Regions from separate parts of the Homo sapiens genome. Here region 2 is linked to region 1. The links are contacts of gene promoters, found by promoter capture Hi-C in blood cells and fetal thymus (Javierre and others, 2016). All regions are on one chromosome and are shown on one strand. Each heading gives the region's core, a stretch centred on a gene start or on the middle of the fragment in contact. The rest is flanking DNA. Distances are from core to core; before and after follow the strand shown. Region 1 holds the start of GBX2 (gastrulation brain homeobox 2). Region 2 overlaps AGAP1 (ArfGAP with GTPase domain, ankyrin repeat and PH domain 1).

The links. The method cuts DNA at HindIII sites, captures the fragments that hold promoters and counts their contacts. A CHiCAGO score of 5 or more calls a contact.
Region 2: a fragment that was not itself captured here is called in contact with the fragment with the promoter of GBX2 in region 1 in 4 of 17 cell types (M2 macrophages, M1 macrophages, endothelial precursors and 1 more); the score reaches 8.9 in M2 macrophages.

What each region holds. Positions count from the first base shown.
Region 1 is chr2:236,166,417-236,169,676 of GRCh38, forward strand. GBX2 (gastrulation brain homeobox 2) reads right to left here and starts at 1,970. Exons shown (of 2, transcript NM_001485.4): 1 at 1,033-1,970; 2 at 1-21. The coding sequence starts at 1,555. GBX2-AS1 (GBX2 and ASB18 antisense RNA 1) reads left to right here and starts at 1,026. Exons shown (of 2, transcript NR_186035.1): 1 at 1,026-1,253. It overlaps LOC124906126 (a long non-coding RNA gene), which reads left to right and starts at 2,610. Exons shown (of 2, transcript XR_007088136.1): 1 at 2,610-2,968; 2 at 3,113-3,260. RefSeq lists an enhancer at 149-1,101. The HindIII fragment of the contact is 5,712 bases long and covers 1-2,771 here.
Region 2 is chr2:235,935,256-235,938,108 of GRCh38, forward strand. The region is part of intron 12 of AGAP1 (ArfGAP with GTPase domain, ankyrin repeat and PH domain 1); the gene reads left to right. Among named protein-coding and RNA genes, the nearest start is that of GBX2-AS1, 230 kb to the right of the region's middle. The HindIII fragment of the contact is 205 bases long and covers 1,452-1,656 here.

The sequences.
Region 1 (3,260 bases), core at 720-3,219:
CTTGCCCTCGGACAGCCCCGACTGAAAGCAAAACCAAACGGCATTTTATTACATTTCGCACACTGGCCTTCCTTTCTCCTTCCCACCGTCATTTGGACATTCCGCGCCCCCCGCCCCCCACCCTTTAGCGGATTGTCTTTCTATGACATTAACACATTGTGATTTCCTGGCCTTTGAGGGGTAGAGGAGGGGTGGGGGGAGCGTGAGAAAGCTCAAAGGAGAGGAGGCAGTACAGGCGACGGCCCTTTGCCCAGAACCATCACTCAAAGGGCCGCCATGCCTCCCCCGCACCCTCCCAGCCTCGGCAGCGTCAGGAGAAGTAGCAGGAGGCGCGAGGCCCAAGAGATTGCCCGCTTTGTCCCTGGGGTGGGGACTGGTTGAGGACTGATGGGGGGATTCACGATTCATCCTCCCCCCACCGCCACCATGAAAATGTAGTGAACCTCAATTGCTTCCTAACCGGAGTGGAGGCGTAGGGACGTGCAGATCCCAGACCATCTTTTTTGAGACAGACAACGTTGGTCAAAGGGATGTTTTGTGGCCTTATAAGTTCCCACCAGACACCCCCAACACAAACACACAGGCACAGCCTCCCAGCAGTCCGTTTCTCCCAGACAAGTAGCAAGACCAGCGAAGGGGTTTAAAAAGTCTGGGCGCCCCTGGGCACACGCACGGCTGAGACGCGCAGCCCAACCCGTCTCCCCTAGAGGCTGCAACCTACCCGGAACCCCAGGTCACCGCGGAGCGGCAGAGGCGGCCTCGGCCAAACGCATCGTCAGATAGATATGTGGCCCAGGGCAGCAGCTGGTCGCCGGGCGCTAAACGCCCCCCCTCCCGAGACCCCGCTTGTTGGGTGGCTCTGAATGTCCCCCGGAGGCCCAGCGGCACAGCCGGGCCTCATCCTCCAGCTCCTCCCGCGGGGGTCGAGCGGGGGCGCGGCCTCGCCCCCTTGGTCTCCCGCGGGAACCCGGCGCTGGCCCGCCCCCGCCTCCTCCCGCCCCCTCGTCCCGGCTGCGCGCGCCGCCGACTCACCGAGCGAAGCCTGCACCGTCTCGGCCGCGGAGAAGGCGAGCAGCGAGCCCTCTTTGGCCAGGAAGCCTTTGCCGTCCTCCGCGTCAGCCTGCAGCGCCTCCGCCTTGTCGAAGTTACCGCCGCCGGGCAGCGGCTGCGGCGCGAACTTGCGGGCCGCTGCCGCCTCCTGGTGCTGGGGCGACGCGGAGAAGCCGCCGGGGAGCGTGGCCATGAGCGTAGAGGTGAGCGCCATGCCCTGCGCCAGGCTGGAGCAGAAGCCTGTGGGCAGGCTGGGGATCTGGTGGTGAGGGTGTGCGGGCGGCAGCGCTGGCTGCAGCGCGGCCTGGGGCAGCGCGGGCGGCGGCGGCGGCGGCGGCGGCAGCACTACCGGCCGGTAGGGCATGAACATGGGGTAGCCGGTGTAGACGAAATGGCCGGGGCTGGGCTGCGGCGGGCTGCCGATCAGCGAGTCTATGCTGAAGGCGGTGCTACTCCCCAGCGGGCGCTGCATCATCATCAGCGACGGCGGGAACGCTGCGCTCATAGACGCGCTCGGTAGAGGCCAGCGAGAGGCGAAAAGTCCCCGCGCCGCGCCGCCGCCGGGAAGCCCGCCGGACGCCGGGAGCACCGCCGGGAGCGCCGGGCAGGGGCCGAGCGGGACCCGGAGAGCAGACGCCTCCGCCCCTCAGTCCTGGGCCCGCTGCATGCCGGGCGGGTGCAGGGGGTGTGCGGGGTGAGGCCGTGCGCCCCGGAGTGGAGAGGGCGCCCGGGCCCCGAGGGCTCGCCGGAGCCCCCGTCCGCCGCTTGCCCGTCGGAGCCCGCGCGCTTCGCGGGTTTGGCCCTCGGCCCCGGTAAGCTGCCGTCCGTCCGTCCGTCCCGCCGTCCGTCGCCTCCCGCGGGCCGCTGGGGAGCGCGCGAAGCCGGCGTACTTATCTCCGGCGGGCGCAGCCAGCACCTTTAAATCGCGCTCCTCTTTCTCATTCACATTTTGCCTGCCGCCTGGCCCGGCTCGCCTCACGTGGGGCTGGGCGCCTCTGGCCATTGGCTGAGCGGGGCGGGGGTGGGGCGAAAGCGGGGCCCCGCCCTTTCCACCCAAGCTGGCCTCGAGCGGGCTGCGGGCGCCACCGTCGGAGCGCGCGGGCCGGGGAGCCGGAGCCTGCATGCCTAGCCCGTGCCGCGCAAACTTGAGACGGGCGGATGGCACCTCCAAGGCTCGGACCTTGGGGCCCTGCAGCCTTGTCGAGGCCACCTCGAAGGGTAGCCTCCGGGGCCCGCACCCCCACGGCTGGGCCGGGGGCGCTTTATTTCTTTTACTGTATTTGCCATGGAACCAACCTGCCTGCGGCTCACTCCAGCGCTGGGTGCTCCGGCTGCGCCTGGGGTCCGGGCGAGGGTCCTGGAGTTGGGGGCAGGGTCCTGCCCCTCCGGAGCCACCCCCGGGGCGAAGGCTGGGAGCTGGCAGCGCCTGCCCGCCGCCAGAAACCCGCCGGGTTGCTCGCTGTAGGTCCGCGCACCGGGTGGGGCGGGGAGGCTGCTGCTTCCCCCATCCCGGGCTGGGCCCTCCCGTGAGCGATCCCGTCTCTCATTTTTCATGACATTCTTAATCATCGCACCTATTTACACACTTTGCCAGCGCGCACCAAAATAACAACCACGATAATTATGATAATAAAGAGAGTCCTTTATCTGCTCCATCCTCGGGGAGGAAGGGGGGAGTTGCTGTGCCTCCAGATTGTATAACGTGAGATTATCCTGATGAAAGCTTTATGATGTTTGCTCAAATAAAAGCTGCGTTTTGTAAATAGGCGCTAATTAAGCACGTTGCGAACGCAAGGAGTGCTCACCCTGGCGCCGCCGCCCGGTTTCCAGCGCGAGGACTCGAGGGCGCGCGGTTCCTCTTTGCTAACTGCAGGATGGAGCCGATCCCCTCAGGATGTTTCCCCTGTTCTCGACAACGGTAAAGACCCCCAAATTTGAAAGTAAGGGAATTTTGGGGTGGAGGGAAACTAGGGACGTACTTATCCCCTCTTCCATTTTCAAACAAAAAACTTTCAGCTCTTGTCTTCCCTTTAAAAATGGAATCACTTCTTGACAACGGCAGACCGTGCAGAGCGCACCAGCGCGAGCGGGGCTTCCTCGAGTCTCCAAGGCCCGGGCTTCAACTTCCCGGGTCTAGACGTCAGCCCTGAACCGCCAACAGCACCGGGTTGGGGAGAAGGAAAGAAGGGCATTGTTAGTTCGGTCATTAA
Region 2 (2,853 bases), core at 304-2,803, 230 kb before region 1:
GCCGTCTGCCGGCTTGCAAGCCGCACGGAGGATTGGATCCCTCCTCTGCTGAGTACCACATGCTGCTGAGCGTAATTTTTTAAATGCAGAAACATATTCATCTTGAGCCTCTGCATTGAAAAAGGCCGTTCCAGGAGTACATGAAAAATTAATTTTTTTACATTTTTTCCCACTCTTCTAAGTGTTTGACAGAAGTAATTTTTGCAGCAAGAGAGAATAAAAACTGGTGGCTGTAAATTCCTGTCCTGCAACCTCTTGTGTAGATTCTTTATGGACCCAGAATTGATCTACATGTCAGATCCTGTTGTGGTTTAAACTGTTTATCACTGTAATGGCAGTAGTGAGCCCGTGACCACCAACTTATAATCCTGGGTGAAAGAAATTGGTGTTTGCAGTCAATGAAGAGGCAGCTTTGCTTTATTGATAGATTCAGAACAATTATCTCTGCAACAACTATTGGCTGAGGGTTCTCTTGAATCTTATTGGAAGCCTGTAATTTTTTTTGATTAATCATTTCCTCCATAGGTAATTTCCTCTAGAAGCGTTAGCCACGAGTCAGCATCACTGTGGGTAGCAGGGGCCCTGGGGGGTCGTATGTGGCATACTTGGCCGTCCTGTCTTACTTCAAGACAAGATGCACGTTGAGATGCGTCACACCTGTCCTCAGGGCCAGAGTGCTCACCTGCCTGCCTGCCTCCTGAGTACCTGGGTGAGCCTGGCCCGGCCCTCCCCGCTGGCTCCTGCCTGGGCCAGCCTCGTCGGGTGGTCTCAGCTAATGCTGTTGCCATGGCAGCCTCGCTCCCCCAGCCCTGGACTGTCAGGTTCTTCTGATAGCTCCACCCCATCCCCGATTGCTTCAGTCCAACAGTTTATCTTCTGCCACGCTGACTGGCCATCACTGTTAATACTGCATTTCTTCACGTGACTCTTCCATGTGGCTCTTGAGCCTCACTTCCCTCGGCCTCCCCCAGGCCACCACGCAGCCTCGTCACCATCGAGCACAAACACCATGTCCATCTTCCACATGGAAGGAGTGTATCACATGTGTGTGTGTACGGGTGTATGCTCTGGTCCCTGTTTCCTTCTGGCCACGTAATCATTATATCTTTCCAGTAGACTCTGTGGTTATAAAGCAGCCGATCCTCAATGGAAAGCATTTGAGTTTTTGCCAGCTTTTAAATGTCTTTTCTCATTATAAAAATGTTTTGCACGTCGATTTTGATGATGGGGGTTCGAAACATGAGTTTCAGCTTCGGAAGCTGTCTGTCCCACACTTACTTTCGGAGCCAATGCATTTGAACCACACTTTCCAGCAAGCATGTCCACACCATTCATCAATTTTAATCATTATAGTTGGAGCATTTTTTTTCTCTTCTTGGATATTATACTGACAATTTTAGTGTATGACCAGCAGGCGGCGGTAATGTGATACTGCCGGTCTCTGACCTGGAAGCTTCTTTGATGGGAGGGTATCAGTGAAGCGTGGTGGGGAGGAAATACATGTGTTGACAGCCTCCGCTGTTGTGACCTTCATGCCTAACACTCGTTTCCCTGGGGATCATCATCTCTGATAACTGAGCTTCCAAAAGGCTGAGAAACCAAGACCATACTTATCATTATTAGCCAAAATTCAAACCCAGATCTTTCTGATTTCAAAGCTTGTAATCATTCCCCTCTGCTTTTTTTTTTTTAAGGAGAAACGCATGCTTAGTACTAAAACATTGTATCATAAAAATTGTTTGTCTTTTGATAGCGCTTGCTTTTCAAGGAAATATGTTCTAAGATGGATAGACATTTTGTCTTCTCTCACTGATGCTGAAGTTTCCTTTATCAATTCTTCCCAAATCTTGGCTGGCATTCAAAAGCGTTCCCTGGGGGTTGTCATCAACCTTCAGCTTAGCTCAGTGTTAAAGGCCCCTGGGCTCTCATCTCTCAAAGCTGGGCACTCCCTGCCTCACCGCCGGGAGGGCTGCTCGGCTCGCCAGGCTGGCCGGCCTAATTAAAAGGCTGACCCCGCTCCCTTCTGTGCTCGGAGCCTGCTTTCCTGTCTCTGCATGTGGCCGAGGAGCAGGCAGAAGCGTCCTGGGGTAACTGGACACAGGGGGTGAAAGGTGGATTTTTTTTCCTCCCAATCAGAATGTTGTAACTTTGTACTTTGTCTCCTTAGTTCCTTCCTATCAGCTATTTTCAGCAGTAGCTGCTGACCAGGGGAAACAGAGGACAGTGAAATGCTGCCCCATGATCAAAACCGAACAGGGGCAGCACATTTCATTCCCGAAGACCAGAAATCTTCATGTTGTTGCAAGGCAAAAAAAATCTAGAAATGCTTGTAAACAGGGAGTAGAGAAGGATATTGTTGCTAGTTGCTGTAGTGCCCGGACCAGACCTCTTGGCCCTCTGGCCCTCGGCGTGTCTTCACCTATTCCAGGGGCTCGCAGCCAGGGGTGATTTTGTCTCCTTGGGACAGTTCGTGATGTCCGGAGGCATTTTTGGTTGTCACATAGGGGAGGGTGATGCTACTGGAAGCTAGTGGGTAGAAGCCACCAGGGTGCTGCTGAGTGTGCCACGGGGCAGAGACCAGCCCCCCACAGCCAAGAGTTATTCAGCCCAAAACACCAGCGGTGCCACGGTCAGGAAGCCCCGATCTGGACAATGAAAGTTTCGCTTCCTTGGCCCCTTCCAGCTGCGGTTGCTGCGTTGCACAGTAATTCAGTAAGAATCCTTCCCAAAGAAAGGAAAGCCGGTTTCTGGTTTGCAAGAGGGTCACTGCAGCCAACCCAGAGCAGTGCCTGATCCTCAGGGTGCTTTCCACACAGCTTCTCAGAGCATCCGCCTGGCGGCACGGCCGGTTCA